Linked DNA regions of Homo sapiens: all the other regions are linked to region 2. The links are contacts of gene promoters, found by promoter capture Hi-C in human tissues and cell types (Jung and others, 2019). All regions are on one chromosome and are shown on one strand. The core of a region is centred on a gene start or on the middle of the fragment in contact, and the rest is flanking DNA. Distances in the headings are between cores, read along the strand shown.

Region 1 (4,817 bases), core at 1,478-3,977, 150 kb before region 2:
GCCGGAGATCTTGATGCCTGGCAGTTTGCAGTAGTTTTGCAACCCCCACGACAGCAAGGTGGAGCCCATCAAGCGGTATGGGAACCATTTTCTTTTAAGCTGCTCAAAGATCTTAAAGCAGCTGTTGGTCAGTATGGTCCCAATTCGCCTTTCATCCGATCGCTATTGCAATCTGTGGCTCAGAATAAGCTATTGACTCCGTGTGATTGGGAGATTTTAACGAAAGTTACACTTTCGCCCTCCCAATTTCTTCAGTTTAAGACTTGGTGGACCGACGAGGCTCAAAATCAAGATCGAAAAAACCGTGCTGCTAATCCTGCTATTGCCATTACATTTGAACAACTTCTAGGAATAGGGGGTCAATGGGGAACTGTAAACAACCATCAGGACTTCGAGATGATGCCATTGAACAAATTCGCAATTGCTGTTTGAGGGCATGGGAGAAAATTCAGGATCTGGGAACTACTTATCAGTCTTTTAATTCTATTAGACAAGGCTCAAAGGAACCATATCCTGATTTCATTGCTCGCCTTCAAGACGCAGCACAGAAGGCTCTCACTGATGAAAGTGCCAGGAAGGCCGGGTGCGGTGGCTCATGCCTGTAATCCCAGCACTTTGGGAGGCCGAGGTGGGCGGATCACCTGAGGTCGGGAGTTGGAGACCAGCCTGACCAACATGGAGAAACCCCGTCTCTACTAAAAATATAAAAATTAGCCGGGCGTGATGGCACATGTCTGTAATCCCAGCTACTCAGGAGGCTGAGGCAGGAGAATTGCTTGAACCCAGGAGGCGGAGGTTGCGGTGAGCCGAGATCACGCCACTGCACTCCAGCCTGGGTAACAAGAGCGAAACTCCGCCTCAAAAAAAAAAAAAAAAAAAGAAAGAAAGAAAGAAAGTGCCAGGAAGGTGATTGTAGAATTATTGGCTTGTGAGAATACTAACCCTGAATGCCAGTCAGCTATTCACCCAGTGAAAGGAAAGGTTCCGGTGGGAGTTGATGTGATTAATGAATATATCAGGGCATGTAATGGAGTTGGTGGAATCATGCATAAGGCTATGATAATGGTTCAAGCCACGACAGAGTTAAAAGTGGGAGGTCCAATTAAAAACTTTTCAGGCAATTGTTACAATTGTGGGCAATTTGGACACACAAAAAAGGAACGTAAGAACAAATCGAACAAACAGGCAAGATATAATCAAATAAAAGAACCACCTGGCTTATGTCCCAGGTGCCAGAAGGGTAAACATTGGGCTAATCAGTGTCACTTCAAATTTGACAAAAATGGCCAACCGTTACAACCGCAGTCGGGAAACAGGAAGAGGGGCCAGCCTCAGGCCCCGCTCCAAACGGGGGCATTCTCACTCCAGCAGTTGGTCCCTCAGTCGGTCATTGCCTCTAGTCCAACCACCATCATTGTCTCTTGCCCAACCACCACAGTAACACAATTGGCGCCAGCTACAGCAGGGAGTACAGGCTTAGATTTATGTTTCCCAAAAGCTATCTCTCTGCTTCCAGGGAAATCCCCTCAAAAAGTCCCCACTGGAGTATTTGGCCCTTTACCTGATGGACAGTTGGACTTGTTTTAGGAACATCTAGTCTAAACTTAAAAGGAGTTCAGATTCATACTGGGCTGATTGATTCAGATTTTGTGGGAGAAATTCAATTGGTTATTAGTTCCAGTATTCCTTGGAGTGCAAACCCAGGAGATAGAATTGCTCAGCTGTTGTTATTACCTTATGTAATAGTAGAAAAAAGTACAGTAAAAAGAGAAAGTGGTTTTGGCAGTACTGACAGTGAAGGAAAAGCAGCCTATTGAGTAAATCAAGCTTCTAAAAACAGACCTGTGTGCACAATGATTCAGGGAAAACAGTTTGAAGGACTGGTAGACACAGGTGCTAATATTTCAATTATAGCTCTAAATCAGTGGCCAAAAGCGTGGCCCCGACAAAAGGCTTCTATGGGCTTGATTGGAGTAGGCACAGCATCTGAAGTCTATCAAAGTGCTACAATTTTACATCGTTTAAGACCAGATGGGCAGGAAGTCACCATCCAACCTATGATTACTTTCATTCCCATTAATTTGTAGGGGAGAGATTTGTTACAGCAATGGGGTACAGAAATCACCATTCCCCCTGCAATTTACAGTCCTGAGAGCCAAAGAATGATGACCAAAATGGGATATATTCCTGGGAAAGGATTAGGAAAAAAATGAGGACGGAATAACCCAGCCGATTGAGGTCTCAGTTAAATTTGACCGAAGAGGAATTGGATATCCTTCTTAGGTGCGGCCACTGTTGAGCCTCCAAAGCCCATTGCATTAAAACGGAAAACTCCAAAACCTGTTTGGGTTGATCAGTGGCCGCTTCCTCAACAAAAACTGGAGGCATTACATTCATTGGCAAAAGAACAATTAGACAAAGGACATATTGAACCATCTTTTTCACCATGGAACGCCCCAGTTTTTGTAATTCAGAAAAAATTCGCTAGATGGCGCATATTGACCGACTTATGAGCGGTTAACGCAGCCATTCAACCGATGGGAGCTCTCCAACCAGGGTTGCCATCTCCGGCCATGATCCCAAAAGAATGGCCGATGGTAATAATTGATCTAAAAGATTGTGTTTTTTACTATTCCTTTGGCTCCTCAGGATTTTGAGAAATTTGCATTTACAATACCTGCCATGAATAACAAGGAACCAGCTACTATATATCGATGGAAAGTTGTACCCCAAGGAATGTTAAATAGTCAAACTTTTGTTGGAAAGGTTATTCAGCTTGTCAGGGATCAGTTTCCTGATTGCTATATTATTCATTATGTTGATGACATTTTATGTGCTGCTGCAAGCAGGGACAGACGGATTGAGTGTTTTGCTAGGCTACAAGAAGTGGTGGGACTTACAGGTCTCGCTATAGCACCAGATAAAATCCATACTACACCCTATCATTACCTGGGAATGAGGGTACAGGAGAAAACAGTAAAGCCTCAAAAGGAGGAAATTCGTAAAGAGTCCTTAAAAACCTTAAATGATTTCCAAAAATTATTAGGGGACGTTAATTGGATAAGACCTACTTTAGGAATTCCCACCTAAGCAATGTCTAAACTGTTTGCTTTGCTGAGATGGGATCCAAATTCATGTAGCAAAAGAACTCTGATGCCTGCTGCAGCTGAAGAGTTACAAATGATTGAGGAAAAAATTCAAAGTGCTCAAGTCCGTAGAAGAGATCCTAGTGTTCCATTACAGCTCTTAGTGTTCCCTACTCTCCATTCTCCTATAGGAGTGATTGTTCAAAATGTTGACTTAGTTAAATTGTCCTTTTTAACGCACAGTACGACTAGAACTTTCTCAATTTATTTAGATCAAATAGCTATTCTTATAGGCCAAATACAACTGAGAATAGTCAGACTCATTGGCACCGATCGAGATAAAAATGTAGTTCCTTTAAACAAAGCACAGGTTCGACAAGCCTTTATTAATTCGTCAGAATGGCAGTCAAATCTGGCTGATTTTGTTGGCAGTATAGATATTCATTACCCTAAAACTAAAATGTTTCAGTTCCTAAAAATTGACTACCTAAATTTTACCCAAAATAACTAGTTCCATTCCTTTGGAGGGAGCCGTAACTATCTTTACTGATGGCTCTCAGAATGGAAAAGCAGCTTATACAGGACCGGAAGAAAAGATTATTCAAACTCAGTTTCATTCTGCACAAAGAGCTGAGCTACAAGCAGTTATATCTGTATTGGAAGATTGTAATCAACCTGTTAATATAATCTCTGACTCTGCTTACGTATTCCAAGCTGCCAAAATGGTAAAAACAGCTTTAGTAAAACATATTTCTGATGATCAGTTAAATTTCTTGTTTAGTTCACTTCAACAAGCAGTTAGGACTCAAAATTTTCCCTTTTATATTACACATATTTAGGCTCACACAAACTTACCAGGACCTTTAACCCTATTAAATAATCAAGCAAATTTATTAGTGACGCCTGTTCTAACAGTGTCCGGCCTCTGAGCCCAAGCTAAGCCATCATATCCCCTATGACCTGCACGTATACATCCAGATGCCCTGAAGCAACTGAAGAATCACAAAAGACGTGAAAATGGCTGGTTTCTGCCTTAACTGATGACATTACCTTGTGAAATTCCTTCTCCTGGCTCAGAAGCTCCCCTACTGAGCACCTTGCAACCCCCGCCCCTGCCCGCCAGAGAACAACCCCCTTTGACTGTAATTTTCCACTACCTACCCAAATCCTATAAAAGGGCCCCACCCCTATCTCCCTTCGCTGACTCTCTTTTCGGACTCAGCCCACCTGCACCCAGGTGAAATAAACAGCCTTGTTGCTCACACAAAGCCTGTTTGGTGGTCTCTTCACACAGACGCGAACAAAAGCTCAAAACTTCCATTCCCTAATTCATGTAAATGCTGCTGGATTAAAAAATAAATATTCATTTACCTGGAAACAAGCTAAAAATATAGTACAACATCCTCAGTGCCAAGTGCTACAGCTACCCACCCAAAAACCTGAAGGTAACCCTAGGGGGCTTCAACCAAATGCAGTGTGGCAAATGGACATGACTCATGTCCCATCATTCGGAAAACTTTCTTTCGTACATGTTACTGTTAATACTTTTTCTCGGTTTATCTGGGCTACACGCCAAACTGGAGAAAGCACAGCTCACGTAAAACGACATTTATTATCTTGTTTTGCAGTCATGGGTGTGCCACAGAAAGGAAAAATGGTCTGGTGGAAGGATACCAGAACCAAAACTTGGAAATTAAGAAAAAGTATTACTTGGGGGAGGGGTTTTCCTTG
Region 2 (4,499 bases), core at 335-2,834:
GCCCTGGACCACTTCTCACTTTCAACTTCTTCATTTTTTTTTTTTTTTGAGATGGAGTCTCGCTCTATTACCCAGGCTGGAGTGCAATGGTGCCATCTCGGCTCACTGCAACCTCCACCTCCCAGGTTCAGGCAATTCTCCTGCCTCGGCCTCCTGAGTAGGTGGGATTACAGGCACATGCCTGGCTAATTTTTGTATTTTTAGTAGAGACGGGGTTTTACCATGTTGGCCAGGCTGGTCTCGAACTCCTGACCTCAGGTGATCCACCTGCCTCAGCCTCCCAGTGCTGGGATTACAGGCGTGAGCCACCTACCTGGCCTCACTTTCAACTCTCAAAATAATAGGTACATTTTCTTTTAGGAGTGACTAAGGTAAAAGTGACAATGGTTTCTCATTCAGACTCCATTCCTGACAGCCTCACTCAGTGCTCCATGAGGGAGGGAGCTGATGTACAAGGGAACAGACAGACTCTCCAGGAAGCAAGAGCTCCAAAAACAGGGAGCAAAGCCTGTGCAGGGCCCCTTCCTTCTTCTGCAGCCAAGAGAAGAAAGCCCCTAGGCCCCAAATAGTGATATTGGTACCAATCTACAAATAAGCAAGTTGAATAAAATACAGTCCAGAAATAGACCCACATATATGTGGGAATTTATATATATAATAAAGGTGGCATTTCAAATCAGAGAGGAGGCCCTTCAATGAAATCTGTCTGGACCATTGGGAAATAAGTCAATTTAGATCCATTTAGATTCTTACCTCAATTTAGTCATTAATTCCAAATTGTAATTTAGACTTGCCCTGGGCCTTTTAAACTGTAACTTTATATCCTTTTAGAGTCTATTTCTATTTGCTGTCTAGTTTTTTTTTTTTCAGGATATGGATTGGGAATCATGGCCTGAAGGCCAGGCCCTGCCTGCTCAGTCCCAGATATCATTTGTATGTGACGAGCCCTGCAGAGGTCCTCACCAGCTGGGAGTCACTGGCTGGTCAGATTCACGTTGGCAGCACCTGACAGGATGTGGCTACAAATGACCAGAGCGGGTTCTGTCGTCAAACTTGGGACCCGTACTTTGGAGCATAACGGGGAAGAAAGTGCTTAAAGGATTGCTCATTGCAGGATCTCAAGTTTCCCAGCAGGAACTCGCCATGCGGGGTCATGGGGGCGCAGGGACGGAGGGAAGGGCCTTACCGTCTGTCGGCCGTAGGGCCAGGGGTAGGAGTTCTCCTTCTGGGCCATCCTTAGAGAGAAAGGGGGAGGAGAGCTGGGCGGAGAAGGGAAACAGCCGTGAGAAGCAGAGAAAAAGAGAGAGAGAGGGAGGGGTTGGACCGATCGAGCCGGAAGCGCTAGCCCGAGCTGGTAAAAGGGAGCAGGTCAGCACACTAGCCCCAATCTGGGCGCTGGTCTCACCGCCCCCGCCCTGCTATCGTCCCTACCTCCTTCCAGCCCTGCGGCGTGCGCGCAGGCCAGCCCAACGGACCCTCTGATCTACCTGATCATCTGCCCACTCCCGGCGCAAGGCCTGCGACAGGAGGCCAGCTCACCTGGGGTCCAAGGCACTGCTACTCTCCCGGCCGCCCGCAAACAACTGAATCTGCCACGCCGCGCCCTGGCCAAGGACTTTTCAAATCTCCCGCCCCGGCCCCATTGGGCAAGCTCGTCGCCCATGCCTAGTTCCCATTGGCTCGATGTCCTGTGACGTAAGTCATGGGAACCCAATGGAAGAGGCGGAATGAGAAGGGCTCACGCTTGGCTTCCAGTTTAGGAAAGTTTCCCCAAATTCCCCCAGTGAATTATCTTGCTTTTTCTTTTCTTTTTTTTTTTCCTTTTTTGAGACAGGTCTCTCTCTGTCGCTCAGGCTGGAGTATAATGGTGCTATCTGGGCTTGCTGCAACCTCTGCCTCCCGGGTTCAAGCGATTCTCGTGCCTCAGCCACCCGAGTAGCTGGGATTACAAGCGCCCGCCACCACGCCTGGCTAATTTTTGTATTTTTATTAGAGACGGGTTTTCGCTGTGTTGGCCAATCTGGTCTCGAACTCCTGTCCTCAGGTGATCCACCCGCCTCGGCTTCCCAAAATGCTGGGATTACAGGCGTGAGCCACCGTGCCCGGCCTTCTTCTTTTTATAAAAAAAATTAAATCTTTAATGTAACTGGAGTTTATCCTTATGCATGTATGAGCTGGGGTCTAACTTCTCTGCCCGATGGAGCGCCAGTTATGTCAACACCATTTGTTAAACAAACTGCCCCAACAGAATTTAAATGCTGCCCTTGATATATAATGTTAGCATATTTACTTGTGTCTATTTCTAGACTTTGTATTCCGTTGTTTGCTCATTTGCCTGTGTGTTTATTCTTGTGTCATTACTATGTCGTTCTTAAAAGTTCTGACATTCCTGGGAGGAGTTTTTCCACCAATAGACCTTTCGTTGCAAGATCTCTGTTAGCTGCCGTGTTGTTTGGGCCCACTTTCATTTTTCCTCCTTCCTGCCACACTTCCTTCTTTTCTGCTCTTCCTAACCCTCAGATTTCATTACTGGGTTAAATAAATACATTTTTGGGCCTTCTATGAAATAACCAGTGGATATTTATTAAGTATGTACTGTCCAGCACTCTTCTCCTTTCTTCTAACACTCTATTTTTCCTTTAGGGGACCACCTGTCTCTCCAGTCTATGCAGTCGGTTTCTGTAGTAGTTTCTGTTGCTGACAACCCCAAATCCCTAGGTTGATGAAGACCTATTTAAATCTCACTTTTTTTTTTTTTTTTGAGATGAAGATTCGCTGTGTTGCCCAGGCTGGAGTGCAATGGCACAATCTCAGCTCACCACAACCTCCTCCTCCAGGGTGCAACTGATTCTCCTGTCTCAGCCTCCCGAGTACCTAGGATTATAGGTGCATGTGACCACGCCCGGCTAATTTTTGTATTTTTAGTAGAGACGGGGTTTCATCACATTGCTCAGGCTGGCCTCAGGTGATCCGCCCGCCTTGGTCTCCCAAAGTGCTTGGATTACAGGCGTGAGCCACTGCGCCCAGCTTTATTCCCACTTCTGAAAGCACTTAGAGTTTTGAGGATTTGAGAAGGAAACTGACTTCATTGCAGGTCCAGAAATGAGCCCCAATTAACTTATACTAATCAATACCTTTTATTCCAGATTATGGTTATTGGATCAGGCATAAGCCTGTGATTTAAGTGGGCCAGCTAGTGGGAATCAGTTTCTTGCTCAGAATGCTGGGCAGCTCAAGGAAACACTTAACGTTTACTGGTTTATCATAAAGTGTATTACAAATGATATAGATGAAAAGATGTATAGGGCAAGGTATGGAGGAAGAGATTTCTGGAAGTGAGCAGGGAAGCATGCAGCCCTCATTGCTGCTTCTAGTGCTACTGAAGGAAGCAGCTTGACATTGAAGCCTAACATTGCAGAAGGCAGAAGAGAGGCCTGGAAAGAACTTCAGGACTTGATGACATTGTTGAGCCTCTACATGCCTACGTTAGCACTTTTCTTACATGAACAATAGAGAAGATTATTATTCAGCTAATATCCTTTCTGAATGCATTCTAAATGCTATTTGCTGTTTAAGCATATTGTGTAGAAAAAACAAACCATGGCTAGGCTTGGCGGCTCACGCCTGTAATCCCAGCACTTTGGGAGGCTAAGGCGGCTGTATCACTTGAGCCCAGGAGTTTAAGATCAGCCTGGGCAACCTGTGAAACCCCGTCTCTACAAATAAAAAAAAAAAAAATTAGCCAGTATGGTAGTGTGTGCCTCTAGTCCAAGCTACTTGATAGGCTGAGGCAGGAGGATCAGCAGAGGCCGGAGGTCAAGGCTGTGGTGAGCCATGATTGCACCACTGCACTCCAGCCCCGACATTAGAGTGACACCCTGTCTCAATAAAAACAAAAAATGGGCAGGGCGCAGTGGCTCATGTCTGTAATCCTAGCACTTCAGGAGCCCAAGGAGGGTGGATTGCCTGAGCTCAGGAGTTCAAGACCACCCTGGGCAACATGGTGAAACCCCGTTACTACTAAAATACAAAAAATTAGCCAGTTCTGGCCAGGCGCGGTGGCTCATGCTTGTAATCCCAGCACTTTGGCAGGCTGAAGTGGGTGGATCACGAGGTCAGGAGTTCGAGACCAGCCTGGCCAACACAGTGAAACCCGTCTCTACTAAAAATACAAAAATTAGCTGGATGTGGTGGCAGGCGCCTGTAATCCCAACTACTTGGGAGGCTGAGGAAAGAGAATCGCTTGAACCTGGGAGGCGGAGGTTGCAGGGAGCTGAGATCGCATCACTGCACTCTAGCCTGGGTGACAGAGCTAGACTCCGTCTCGAAAAAAAAAAAAAAATTAGCCAGTTGCGGTGGCGGGTGCCTATAGTCCCAGCTACTCAGGAGGCTGAGTGAGGCACAAGAATTGCTTGAACCTGGGAGTGTTGCAGTGAGCCGAGATCACGCCACTGCACTCCAGCCTGAGCAACACAGCAAGAGTCTGTCTAAAAAAAACA
Region 3 (4,477 bases), core at 914-3,413, 240 kb after region 2:
TTGATAATAGTAAATTATTGGGAATGTGGTGCCTGATTTTCTAGTAGGGTCACCTGGCATAAAATGTTCCAAGCAGATGTTTTGAAGCAGTTGTATACCTGGGAAGGGCAGCATGCATGCGGTAGCAGCATCTCTGACAATAAGCTTGTTTCTGTCTCCCGATTCGCAGAAGACCACGTGGCCTTAAACCAACTGCTGCAACTCTGTGTGCAGGATGATTCTGTGGGCCCAAGTCACCCAGCGCCTATGCTGCAACCAAAAGTGCCTCCTGTCGCTTTGTATCAAAGGACCTTTGTCATGATCTCATTCACAATATTGGTGGTCCCTGAGAGTGGAGCAGTGGAGTGATTGACGTGCCTGAGTTTGAAGAGAGTTAACCACTGGAATCTCTCATGTTTTATTCCCTCCAAAATGCTGCAGTTCAGTGTTGTCCCAGATTTTATGCTTGTGCTTAGATTTCTCTGTTCTCTAATTTGTTAAGTTTGTCTTTAATATTTCACAGGCTTTCTTGATCATGGATGGTGAAGATATACCAGATTTTTCAAGTTTAAAGGAGGAAACTGCTTATTGGAAGGAACTTTCCTTGAAGTATAAGCAAAGGTAATGTTGGAAAGCACACTAAAAGTAGGGGAGGGCATTTGGAATACACCGTGTCTTGTTTGTGCATTTTTCTTTTTAACATAAAGCTAAATTTAGAATTGCAGATTTAGGATTCTAGGATTGAGATTCTACAAACAGTCACCACATGGGTTGTATTTAAATAGTGTAAACATGCCATAAGTCTTTATATTGTTCAAATTATTAAAATAGTAGGAAAACTGTCATTTATGATTTCTTCTGATTGTTACCTGTTCTATGCTTTTTAGTAGGCGGGGCCATCTTTGGCCCGTTTTGCATGCACTGATTCTGCCTCATCATTTTGGTCATTTGGAGATTCTGATAAGCTGTCTGGGGCTCCATAGAACAGACTTTACGTTCTCCTCAGGCAAGCATGATCAGTGTCTGGAGCCAGCAAAGCTTTGAGGGAGGGGGAGAAGCTTCAGGGGCATGGAACGTTTTATAAAATTTCAGTTATTTGGTTGGGAGAACTTTCAGGCAACAACCTTTTAAGCAACAAAACTTGTCTCAAATTTCTTTTTTAAAAATGGGATCTTGCTAAATAAAATATTGATACATTTTCCTATTTTGGTTAACAGAGTTTACTAAGTCTTATCAAACCTTTTACTGCCCTTTCATTATTATCACCGAAGTCAGTTATTCTATTGTGCCAGTGGATATGAAAGGTGTGTATCTATGGCAGGGTTCTTAATCTTTTTCTGTGTCATAGATGTCTTAATGGGCTGGGGTAGCCTGTGGACTCCTCAGCATAATATTTTTAAATGCATAGAATAATAGAATTACAAAGAAAATCAATTATATTGAAAAAAGTTATCTAAATATTAAACTAATTTATGGCATAGTAACATGTACTTCTCTATTAATGCATTAAATAAAAAAAGATACAGAAGTGAATGTAATAACTACCTAATTTTGAAATAGTCATGAAAATAAATATATTTAGAGATACATGCAACGATTCTATTGTGATGTGAAAATATGTGTGATTTCTGTTGAATATGGTAGAAGGAAATGCCAAATTTGTTACTTTAATGAAAGTAAAAATGCATTTTTCTCGCATCTGAGTTCTGTGGTGGAAGAAGCTAATGGTATTGAGCCACGTAGCCTTACTTTTCATAAATATTGTAATCACTGACTTGTGGCTCCTTTTTGGGCTTGTCGTTTTCATTGAACCCTGAATATATACAGTAAGAGATGCAAAACAGATTGTCTTTAGTATATTTTATGAGAGCATTAGCATTCAAGCAAAAATTATCGAATTGCTCTATAATCACCTCCAAGACAATCCTTGTGGTTCTTAGTGTAACTCGTCTTTCCCACTTTGTTTCTGATTAGCTTCCAGGAAGCTCGGGATGAGCTAGTTGAATTCCAGGAAGGAAGCAGAGAATTAGAAGCAGAGTTGGAGGCACAATTAGTACAGGCTGAACAAAGAAATAGAGACTTGCAGGCTGATAACCAAAGACTGAAATATGAAGTGGAGGCATTAAAGGTAATTGCAGCAGTAGACGCTGGGGTCTAATGTGTTGAGTTTTATTAAAATGAGAAATATGTTTTTCAGGTGCTTAAGAGCAGCTGGCGACAAAAAATAGTTTGAAAAAAACGCTTAAAGTGAATTTTTGAATAAAATGTTTTCTTTCACGGAACCAGGGGAAAAGGTGGTTTAGAGTTTAGGAGTTCACTTAGAAACTTTGTAGTTGTCACTTTTCTAGCTATAATGTTCCTAGCTATATTATATTATAGTTCCTATAATTTTCAAAAGCTGCCTGATTATTTGTTTTGACAGATAGGTTGCCTCATTCTGCAGTATGTTTACAATTATATTGATAGGGAATATGCATTTATTTCATTATTGTTCATAGCCCTTTCAGTTTTGGAGTTTAGTTAGGGTTAAAAATTTCCCTTCTAAAAAGGAATTTTCAGGAGCAAAAGGATTCACCCCTTTCTCTGCCCTTTACCATCTACTGTAGCCACATGCTTGAGGGTATTTAGTGTCTGGGGAGTGGGTGGGTTCTGGGAAGGTTGGATGGGCAGGTGAAAGGTAGGGAATGTGAACTCTGTGCTTACCCTGGGCCGCATTTAGCCTGAAAATCCAGAGGTTTCCTTAACAAGTTTGCGGATTTTGAGGCAAGGATTTTTTATATTAGTTCTTTTCAGAGAGATTGTTATTGGGTTTCTTTCTGAGAGGAGAATGGTTGACAAAATTTAACATGAGTTTAGGCACTTAGAATGAATGTGTCATTTAGTTGTTTTTAAAGTAATTGTTACAAGAGTGTGGGTAAATTCCTTGGGTTCCCCCCCACCCTTTTAACTTGAGTTACCTCTTTAGTAAAGAGAACTGTATATTAATGACATGTACTTTCCTATACTGATGCCCTCAGGAGAAGCTAGAGCATCAATATGCACAGAGCTATAAGCAGGTCTCAGTGTTAGAAGATGATTTAAGTCAGACTCGGGCCATTAAGGAGCAGTTGCATAAGTATGTGAGAGAGCTGGAGCAGGCCAACGACGACCTGGAGCGAGCCAAAAGGTAAACGAATGACTGCATTTTGTTAGAAAAAAACCACCTTGGTAATTAGTGATTAAAATCTTTATTAGGCTCTTCCCCTAGATCTTAGTCCCAGAACATTTCCTGTTGGTGTTTCATGTCACCTGTAACTCATCGGACGGAAGGGAACCCCAAATCCTCATCTCCCAGATAACGCCCTTCAAAGCTTTCTCTTTCAATTTTTCTTTTTTCCTTCTTTCATATACTGTGGTTGATCCTATTGGTTTTGTTTTGTTTTTTGAGACAGGGTCTCACATTGTCGCCCAGTCTGGAGTGCAGTGGCATGATCTCGGCTCACTGCAACCTCTGCCTCCCAGATTCAAGCGATTCTTGTGCCTCAGCCTTCCAAGTAGCTGGGATTATAGGCATGTGCCACCACACCCAGCTAATTTTTGTATTTTTAGTAGAGACGGGGTTTTGCCATGTTGGCCAGGCTGGTCTTGAATTCCTGCCATCAAGTGATCTGCCCACCTTGGCCTCCCAAAGTGCTGGGATTATAGGCATGAGCCACTGCACCCAGCCTAGGTTTTGTGTATTTATTTATTTTTTAAACTGTCTCATGCATTCCCCCATCTTCCCTCTGTGCTCTTAACACTTCCATACTTCCTGTAGGTCCTCATATCTTATACCTGGATTCTGTAGTTATCCTCTAGCTGATATATCTTTATATTTCTGTTCCTTTTTATTCTCTTTTAATACTGACTGATGAATTTTCTTAAAATGTTGATTTCAGTTCAAATTTCTGAACAACGTGCAGTGGCTTGCTATCACTGTTGCCAAACTTTTATGCATGTGTAATTAGTTGTTTCTTAACCATTCCAAACTTAATTCCTATTACTTTATAATTGTTTCCTGGTATTTCCTTCCTTAATATTTATCCAGTGAGTCTTAAGTGACTGACATGATGCTAAACTTACAGATGCGGAGCTAGTCTGGTCACTACCCTTGGGGGTGACAGATATGTACATTCACTATGTTAATACCCTAGTAAAAAAAAGTGGGCAAGCTGCTGCTCCAGGGCATAGAGGAGGCAGCAGCCAGATTGGTTGCGGGGAGGTGGGCGGGGGGGGGGCAGTGGGGGAACCAATCAGAGGCTGAAGTGAAGTTACAAAGTGACACCCTATGCAAATGTCTGAGTGGTTGCAGAAAGCAAAGGGAATAGCTTCTGGTCCTTTTCTTACTTAGGTGTGGAAAGTTCCGGTTTTCCTTTTGATTTAGTTCTAGGAAGTCAGTGTGAATTGGCCTTAGGTTCCCTGACTTGGGACTTAATGTTTTAAACAAACTCTTACATATATTACAAGTTTTGAAAAGTTT

Evidence for each region. Contacts are between HindIII fragments. The study calls those that stand out against the background at their distance.
Region 1: a fragment that was not itself captured here is called in contact with the fragment with the promoter of AURKB in region 2 in 1 of the 25 tissues and cell types used here (liver).
Region 3: a fragment that was not itself captured here is called in contact with the fragment with the promoter of AURKB in region 2 in 1 of the 25 tissues and cell types used here (hippocampus).

Annotation. Positions count from the first base shown.
Region 1 is chr17:8,057,906-8,062,722 of GRCh38, forward strand. No RefSeq gene overlaps it. Among named protein-coding and RNA genes, the nearest start is that of ALOX15B, 21 kb to the left of the region's middle. RefSeq lists an enhancer at 1-289. The HindIII fragment of the contact is 4,380 bases long and covers 538-4,817 here.
Region 2 is chr17:8,208,991-8,213,489 of GRCh38, forward strand. AURKB (aurora kinase B) reads right to left here and starts at 1,585. Exons shown (of 9, transcript NM_004217.4): 1 at 1,540-1,585; 2 at 1,187-1,259. The coding sequence starts at 1,234. RefSeq lists enhancers at 817-1,476, 1,038-1,087. The HindIII fragment of the contact is 18,109 bases long and covers 1-4,499 here.
Region 3 is chr17:8,443,758-8,448,234 of GRCh38, forward strand. It overlaps NDEL1 (nudE neurodevelopment protein 1 like 1), which reads left to right. Exons shown (of 9, transcript NM_030808.5): 2 at 503-600; 3 at 1,954-2,107; 4 at 2,997-3,145. The coding sequence starts at 515. Among named protein-coding and RNA genes, the nearest start is that of NDEL1, 10 kb to the left of the region's middle. RefSeq lists a silencer at 831-1,031. The HindIII fragment of the contact is 4,225 bases long and covers 52-4,276 here.